Linked DNA regions of Homo sapiens: regions 1 and 2 are each linked to region 3. Evidence: promoter capture Hi-C in 16 types of primary human blood cells and fetal thymus (Javierre and others, 2016). All regions are on one chromosome and are shown on one strand. Each heading gives the region's core, a stretch centred on a gene start or on the middle of the fragment in contact. The rest is flanking DNA. Distances are from core to core; before and after follow the strand shown. Region 1 has its middle 12 kb from the start of PAQR7. Region 2 holds the start of DHDDS (dehydrodolichyl diphosphate synthase subunit). Region 3 holds the start of ZNF593 (zinc finger protein 593).

Region 1 (2,700 bases), core at 115-2,614, 280 kb after region 3:
TTGCTTGCTGCTGAATGAAGTCATAGCTGATGGAGTCATGTTGAGTTCAAGATTTTTGGAGGAGGGACGTGGGTCTAGGGAAGGAGGATGAGGTTACCCCATACACTGAGCTAGTCAACCCAGAGTTCAGTCGTTTATTCATTCAAGAAATATTTATTGAGGACCTACTATGCACCAGCACTATCCCAGGTGCCGAGAATTTAGCAGCAAATAAAGCAAGGATTCTCACCCTTGAGGAGTTTGCATTCTGCTGTAATCAAGAAGCCAGCCTGACTTATGGGCAATTGCATTTCATTTAATCCCAAGGGTGGTGGGGTATGAGGTGTGAACAGGTGATGGTGGTCGGGCATGGCATGTCTATTCCCACAGCCCTCCTCACCCACTCGTGATGTTAGCAAATCAAAATAGTCAACATGTTTCTTCAGTGTTTTCTAGGAGCCAAGCACTGTGCTGTGTTCTACCTCTGACGGAGGTGTTCTGATTATCCCCATGTTATAGGAAGGTTAAGAAAGCAGCTCTAGTCACACAGCTAACCAGCGGTTGTGCTAGATTTAAACCCAGGGCTTTCTGACTCCAGAAATTCACTGACCCCCCTCCCACCCCTGGGCAACCTCTTTAAAAAACAACAACAACAACAACAACAAGGGCCGGGCACGGTGGCTCACGCCTGTAATCCCAGCACTTTGGGAGGCCGAGGTGGGTGGATCACGAAGTCAAGAGATCGAGACCATCCTGGCCAAAATGGCGAAACCCCGTCTCTATTAAAAATACAAAAATTAGCCAGGCATGATGGCACATGCCTGTAGTCCCAGCTACTCAGGAGGCTGACGCAGGAGAACCACTTGAACTCGGGAGGCGGAGGTTACAGTGAGCCAAGATTGCGCCATTACAGTCCAGCCTGGCGACAGAGCGAGACTCCATCTCAAAAAAACAAAACAAAACAAAAAAACCCCAAAAAACACATCTTTATTGTCTAGAAATCTATATTTTCAAAATCCCCCAGAAAAGATGCTGTTCTCTCACTTCCCCCATTTTCTTCCTTTTCTTCCATACCTCTACTATAAAGGACATTTTTATACCATATTAAAACTTCACCCAGATGTCCAGACAGCTCCCCACCTATGTATTTCTCTTATTTGCAAGCTGCATGTTCATGTAGCCATCTAAGATGCCAGATAGCCCTTGTACTCCATTCCCCACTTTGTTTCAGCATCACCGGCTTTCCTGTTAACCCACTGAGGAAAGCTTCGGGATTGAGGGGTAGACTTACCGTAACTATGGGCAAATGCTGCAGGCTCCTGGACAACCTCTTGGCCCCTTTTCCTGTACCCCTTTTTGTCATTGTTTAACAAACCACTTCCTGATTTCCCCTTTCTCCTTGCTTTGGAAAGGGACAATGTCTCTTGTTCATTCCTGTGGTCCAGGCACCTGAACGAAGGCCTGGCAACCTTCATTCCTCCATCCCACTTTTTAAGAAGCTTTCTCTATGCTGAGTGCTGGGAATATAGACAAGTCACAGAACAAGACACACAACCCAGGAGGGAAACAGGTAATTAACAGGTGTCACAGTATAATGGGTCTGGTAGGATAATCAGAGGGACCTACCTTTCCTTGGTACAGGAAAGGGCATCCAAGTCAGAACAGGGTGGTGGGGACCGGTCAACGAGGGCTGCCTGGAGGAGTTGACACCTGAGCTGAGTCCCAGATGAGAAGCAGGAGTTGAGCAGATAAATAAAAGCAGTGGGGCCAGGCACGGTGGCTCATGCCTGTAATCCCAGCACTTTGGGAGACCGAGGCAGGCAGATCACGAGTTCAAGAGATCGAAACGATCCTGTCCATGGTGAAACCCCATCTCTCCTCAAAATACAAAAATATTAGCTAGGTGTGGTGGCAGGCATCTGTAGTCCCAGCTACTCAGGAGGCTGAGGCAGGAGAATCTCTTGAACCTGGGAGGCGGAGGTTGCAGTGAGCTGAGATCACACGACTGCATTCCAGCCTGGGCAACAGAGTGAGACTCCATCCCCCACCAAAAAAAAAAAAAAAAAAAAAAGTGGTGGGGGTGTTCCAGACAAAGGGAGCAGCACATGGAGGGTGGAGAGAGGCGAGATGGCAGCATGTGAGCATGGCTGGACTGTGGATGCAGGTGCACTCGTCTCCCACTAAGGAGTCCCGCCTAAGCATCCTAGAAATCTGGGGCCAGAAGGATCTTAATCATCAACAAATCCAACCTCCTCCTTTTCCAAATGAAGCCCAGAGAGGGGAAGCCATTTTTCCAAGGTCACATAGAAAGCTAATGATGGAGAATAGACTCAAACTTGCTGCACTGCCTGAGTTTTGGATTTTCTTTTTTTCCTTCCATTCCTTCCCTCTGCCCTTCCCTCCCACTGTCCTCCAATTCATATTTGTCACATGCCTACTTTGCACCAGCCCAGTACCCTGACCTCCTTGCCTTAGAACCTTAGGCTTCCAGAGCCTAGGTCATCACCACCTCTTCCTATCAAACCTCCTCCCCACACCCCGTTCCTGCCTGACCTTTCCTACTCGTTAAAAATCCAGATGCCTAGGTTGCTTCCCATACCAACAAGATCAGAATGTCTGGGGGTGGGGGCCAGGTGTCAGTATTTTTTAAAGATCCCTGGATGATTCCATTTGTAGCAAAGTTTGAGAACCACTGTTTTAGCCCTGATGAAGGGCCCCTCC
Region 2 (2,714 bases), core at 184-2,683, 260 kb before region 3:
AAAATAAAAAAAAGAACAGGAATTTCACCCATGTTTGTCTGCGTCTAGAGCCCAAACTCTTTTTTTTTTTTTTTTTTTGAGACAGAGTCTTGTTCTGAACTCTTTTTTTTGAGACAGTCCCGTTCTGTCACCCAGGCTGGAGTGTGGTGGCACAATCATGACTCACTGCAGCTTTGACCTGGGCTCAAGAAATTCTCCCACTTCAGCCTTCCGAGTAGCTGGGACTACAGGTGCACACCACCAAGCCCTGCTATTTTTTTAATTTTTTGGAGAATCGGGGTTTTGCCATGTTGCCCAGGCTGGTCTCAACTCCTGAGCTCAAACAATCTGCCCACCTCAGCCTCCCAAATTGCTGGGATTACAGGCGTGAGTGACCGGGCCCAGCTCTACTGACAGATCAAAGAATATATCAAAGATTAACCTATTTAAATCAAGAAGACAGTACATGGAACAATGGATCAATGTTCCAGGGAAACAAATTTCAGTTCTCTATAAAGAATACTTAGCAGTCTAGGCTGCCCAGTGACATTAAGAGGCCTGGGCTTCCAGAAAATATCAGAGTTAGGACAAAAGTCTACCAGAAATGTAGACCTGGAAGTTACCATTCTAAGACTCTTTGGTTTCCTTGCTAAATTCCACTTAACATCATGAATTGCACTTAACATCATCAACTTTAATAACAGGTTTTTATATAAGATTATCCAACTGACCAGAAGGCCAACCGGTGCTCTGGGCCATTGCTCACCTTTATGATGTTGGCACAGAACCGCTCCCAAAGTGACAGCTCTCCTTCCTTGATCCATGACATAGTTCTTTTCCAGTCAGAAGATCACTCCAGAACAAGCAAACACCAGCCAGGTAATCTTGGATAAACAAGAAAGAAAATAAGAAGTCACCAAGGTTTGCGAAGAGCTATAACTGACTTCTGGGGAATCAGATGGACTATGGAGAGCAGCCAGCATTAGAATCCAAAGACACTGGTCTAAGCCTATAATCTTTTACCACCCAGAGTTTTATAACGCAATGTGACCTCTGGAGGCAAAAGCCTTTCCTCGGTTCTCCTGGCTTTGCAGACTTCTTCCCATTCCCATTTCCTCCGTATCTGCACTGACTTCTTCTGAACATCTAAGTCGGTTTCCTGCCACATCATGGTGCCCACATCTTGATCATTCCCCGTTTCTTCCTTCTCCATCTTCCCCTAAGCTGTTTCCAACTCTGTGCTCCCAGTTACTAACTCCTTCAGTTATCGCACGCCTAGTACTTCACGCCTCAGTGGTCTCCTGATTATTCCCTCAGTCGTCCCTTTGCTTCTCCCGCAGCTGCTCCCCGCCCAGTCACCCTCTTCTCCTCTAGTTCACCCCTTCAGTTCAGTGGCACCTGATTAGCTCCGCTGGGCGCGTCCCCACGGCTTCAGTGGGCCGGCACTTCCTCATGACGTGGCGCTGGCAGAACACGTCATCTTTGGGCGCTGCGACACGCCCCTTCCGTCACCCAAACTGAGGGGACCCTGCCCTGCGCCTGCGCCTGCGAGCTAGTGGGAGGGCGGTTCTCAGTCCCGCGGGGTGTGGAAGCCGGCGCGGGTGAGAGCCAGGCTCACGTGACCGAGCGGGGCGGGAGGCTGGGCTCCAGGCCACGTGCTGGGAGACCAGCTGGGGAAGACAGGGTTGAGCCCAGCGTTGGGAGCGGAGGCGTCTGGAAAACGCGCCAGGGAAATGAGCCAGGGGCAAGAATCGAGGCGCTTCTCGGCCGTCGAAGGCAGCTTAGGACTGCTGAGAGACTGGGTAAGGCAGCGTCCTTACCTTGGAATGCCGCAGAACCGGGCTTCATTAGAGCACTGGTGCATACTCTTAAAAATTATCTCGTTACCGTTTCGTATTTTATTTAGTGGATTTAATCGTCTGGGAAGGAGTTTCTAGCCGCAGCCAATCTTACAGACGCGCAGAATATTAATCTATTTTGTGCCGACTTAAGGCACGCATATTTTAGGATTTGTGGATTCCCAAGACCTATCCCAACGAACTCAAGAGAAGGGGTAAGGCCAGAAAGATTTCTGCCATAAGAATGACTTCTAGGCCAGGCGCGGTGGCTCACGCCTGTAATCCCAGCACTTTGGGAGGCCGAGGCGAACGGATCACCTGAGGTCAGGAGTTTGAGACCAGCCTGACCAACATCGTGAAACCCCGTCTGTACTAAAAATACAGAAAATGAGCCGGGCGTGGTGGCGGGCGCCTGTTATCCCAGTTACTCGGGAGGGTGAGGCAAGAGAATCGCTTGAACCCGGGAGGCGGAGGTTGCGGTGAGCCAAGATCAGGCCACTGCACTCCAGCCTGGGCAACAGGAGCGAAACTCTGTCTGAAAAAAGAAAAAAAAAAAAAGCATGACTTCTAAAATAACAGAAAGGTGCTCGCTTTGGCAGTACATAAATGAAAATAACAGAAATTAACCCTGGTAGAAAAGTTAAGGGCATTAGCTCTACTGAACCTTTACGAAAAAAAGGGTTGCAAGAATTCTAGGCTCACAAAACAAATTTGTAGTTCAATTTTCTCAAAATTGAAAGAGGAGGAAAAAATTCTTTACAGATTCTTATACAACCAGTATTATTTTTATTTATTTATTTATTTATTTATTTATTTAGAGACGGAGTCTGGCTATGTCGCCCAGGCTGGAGTGCAGTGGCGCGATCTCGGCTCACTGCAGCCTCCGCCTCCCGGGTT
Region 3 (2,730 bases), core at 1-2,500:
GGGTAGGTGACTCGGGAGGGGGGTGCAATCTCAGAAGCCTTCTTTTCTGGGGATCAGTCTCTGTCAGAAGCAGGACAGAGTAATCTGATCCCACTCCCGCCACCCCACACTGCATCAGGCCTCCATCTGGGTGCTCCAGTTCAGATGCTAGGACCTCAGAGGGAAGGCAGAGATAGACCAAGTGGGGAGTAGACACCCTAGGCCTGGTGTACAGAAAGTAGTAGAGAAGCCCTTCCAGGGCAGGAGTTTGAGACAGCGGCCTGGAAGTTAGAGTTGGAGGCAAGTTCTCTTTGTCCAGTTCCTTTATTTGGGGCAGGGCACCAAGAAGAGGCCCTCCGCTCCCCAAACCCAGAGGCAAAAGGGGTTGGCACGCTCCCTCCCAGCCTAGTCCTTGCGTCACTGTCCATGGGCAATTCCTCTGCCCTGCATCTTCAGGCCATGTCAGGTAGAGGTATCCATCTCAGGGACCTCAGTGGACACTTCCGTGGGCACTGCCAGCCGCCTGGGGGGCACATAGGATCCCATACCCGCTGCCCTCTCCGCCTCTTCCTGACTGTAGGGCTCGACGCTCAGCTGCTTCAGCCTGGGAGAAAGAAAAACAGGAGTTGGGAGCTGACCAGGTGAGAGCCCTATCTGCTGAGCACCCATCCATCAATCCTCTCCTTACTCCTTCATACCTTTTCTTGTGGTCTTTGGATCGGAAGTGGGTCTTCAGGTTGGTGGAATCGATGAAGTACCTCCTGTAGGAATGGAAGTGAGAAGGAGAGTGAGGAGGTGATAGTCTCCCAAGTGCACCTATCTCCCTAGCCCTAGCTTGTCCCTGACGCCAGGATCCGGGTCTGAGAAACGGGAGGCGGGCGGACCCACGGGTCCCAAGAGAGAAGACTCTGCGCTGCCTGGGGCTTCAACTTCACATCTCCCGGCCGGTACCGCGGACCCTCCTCCGCCCCAGGCCGGGCTCGTCCGGGACTCACGCGCAGGCCAGACAGCGGTGCAGACCGCCCCCTGGCAGGTCGGGGTCGAACTCGGCGTTTGGGTCGGGCTGGGGTCGTGCGGATCCCTGAGGCCGCAGCTCGCGGTGAATCTCATCCAAGTCCGGCCGCCGCCGCTTCGCCTTCATCTGCCGGGCTAGAGAGTGCGCTCGGTGCGCGCCTGTCCGGCGGGAGCGACCCATGGCCAGAAACAGCCCGGCCGGCCAAGGGGCCAGGAGCAGGGCAGGGAGCACACGTGTGAGCACTTCCGGGCCGATCAGCTACGTCAGGCCACGCCGGGGGGCTAGGCAGGCTCGGCCGGACCGCCTCTGATGACGTCACTCTCGGCCAGCGGCTCGAGCGCCGCCAGGCGGCCGTCGACGTCAGTGACCGAGCTCAGGACGGGCTCCCAGAAGTGTGCCCACTGAAGGGCATGGCCCCGCGGGCCCTCGCTGGGGAGGCGCGGGGTGGTGCGTGCGCCTGGGGGTTTCGGGGCCGTCTTGCTGCCCTGCTCTTCCTGGCCTGGTCCAACCAGTATCAGTGCCAACCTGTACTCCTGTCATCCCTTCCTGTTTCCCAGACCTTGGACTCCGCGGTGGGGGTGGGATGCTTTATCTCTGGAAAGCACTGATAAATGTCTGTGTCATGAATAAATTAGTAAATGACTGAGAGTGAATAAGTTTGGAATCCCAGCCCCACCAGGGCTTCCCGAGATAATCTCCAGTCCCTGAAAAAGCCCTCACTTCTCCGGGCTCCCGTTATTCCCTTGAGTCTCCATCCTCTCTCTGACCCCAACCAAATCCGTGAAGGGTGTTCCTCCCCAGAGAGTGCAGTCCTCAGGCATCCAGACTCCAGAGGGATCAGTTCCTCTCACAAGTACTCATAGAAGGACCTCTCCATCTTTGCCTCCTTTCTCTAAGCCCTGGGCTCCCAGAGGTGGGCTGGCAGCAAAGGCCTAGGTGTTGCATGCTCAGAGTGGCTAGAGGGCCTTTCCCCATTCACAGGAGCCTGGTGCCTCCCAGGCTGGCCAGAGCCAACTCAGCTGGAAGGGGCCAGAGGAGCTTAGCAATAATTCAGGGGCTCCAGCTCTTTGGAGTCTGTTGCCAGGAAACAAGGAGACAGGCACGTGTATCCCTGGGGAGAGGAATCAGTTTCCAGCCCAGACAAAGGAGTGAAATGTAAGCCCAAGGTGCCCACTGGGGGCCTGCGGACCTTCCTGCTCCAGTTCATTGAGGCTAAGTAGGGACACAGGGTGGAGCCCTGCTGAGGACACAACTAGTATGACTACAGTCACAGGGGCTCCAGTGTGGGTCCCAGACCTCAGGATTTTGTGAATGGAAGAAGATTTTCCTGGAGGCATGCTAAGAGATGAACAACTCAAGTACTCCTAGGCCCAGGAAGAAAGCCTCTCTAGAGACAAATGACTTCATTATTCTTGGCCAATATGGGTCAAGACAAGGGGCTAAGGTGGCAGAAGCTTGTTCCATCCCCCACTCCCCGACTCCTTTGGATCAGGTTCACCTCCTGGGCACTGTGCCAGCTGGGGAGGCTGGTGCATCTTTAATGAAGTCACTGGATCCCTCGGACAGGCTCTTGGCCTCACCAAGTTCCTAGAGCCAGACTCACTGGTATCCACTGAGCCACCACCTTCCTGTGCTTGCGTGCCAGGCCCCTTCCCCCTGCAGCCATGAACCAGGCCTTCTGGAAAACCTACAAGTCCAAAGTGCTACAGACCCTGAGTGGGGAATCTGAAGAAGAC

Evidence for each region. The method cuts DNA at HindIII sites, captures the fragments that hold promoters and counts their contacts. A CHiCAGO score of 5 or more calls a contact.
Region 1: a fragment that was not itself captured here is called in contact with the fragment with the promoter of ZNF593 in region 3 in 1 of 17 cell types (erythroblasts); the score reaches 5.9 in erythroblasts.
Region 2: the fragment with the promoter of DHDDS here is called in contact with the fragment with the promoter of ZNF593 in region 3 in 1 of 17 cell types (M2 macrophages); the score reaches 6.0 in M2 macrophages.

The regions. Positions count from the first base shown.
Region 1 is chr1:25,885,930-25,888,629 of GRCh38, reverse strand. It overlaps a transcript of STMN1 not described here and the pseudogene SNRPFP2. Among named protein-coding and RNA genes, the nearest start is that of PAQR7, 12 kb to the right of the region's middle. The HindIII fragment of the contact is 233 bases long and covers 1,248-1,480 here.
Region 2 is chr1:26,431,040-26,433,753 of GRCh38, reverse strand. It overlaps DHDDS (dehydrodolichyl diphosphate synthase subunit), which reads right to left and starts at 1,433. Exons shown (of 9, transcript NM_205861.3): 1 at 1,378-1,433; 2 at 746-863. The coding sequence starts at 808. LOC124903883 (a long non-coding RNA gene) reads left to right here and starts at 1,517. Exons shown (of 2, transcript XR_007065557.1): 1 at 1,517-1,781; 2 at 2,636-2,714. RefSeq lists enhancers at 1,114-1,603, 1,141-1,677, 1,704-1,763, 1,834-1,893, 1,678-2,214. The HindIII fragment of the contact is 8,751 bases long and covers 1-2,714 here.
Region 3 is chr1:26,168,428-26,171,157 of GRCh38, reverse strand. ZNF593 (zinc finger protein 593) reads right to left here and starts at 1,250. Exons shown (of 3, transcript NM_015871.5): 1 at 975-1,250; 2 at 678-740; 3 at 285-583. The coding sequence starts at 1,174. The coding sequence ends at 442. It overlaps C1orf232 (chromosome 1 open reading frame 230), which reads left to right and starts at 2,195. Exons shown (of 4, transcript NM_001364669.2): 1 at 2,195-2,730. The coding sequence starts at 2,659. It overlaps ZNF593OS (ZNF593 opposite strand), which reads left to right. Exons shown (of 4, transcript NM_001395468.1): 3 at 1-2; 4 at 560-1,637. RefSeq lists an enhancer at 1,381-1,480 and a silencer at 2,714-2,730. The HindIII fragment of the contact is 4,459 bases long and covers 1-2,450 here.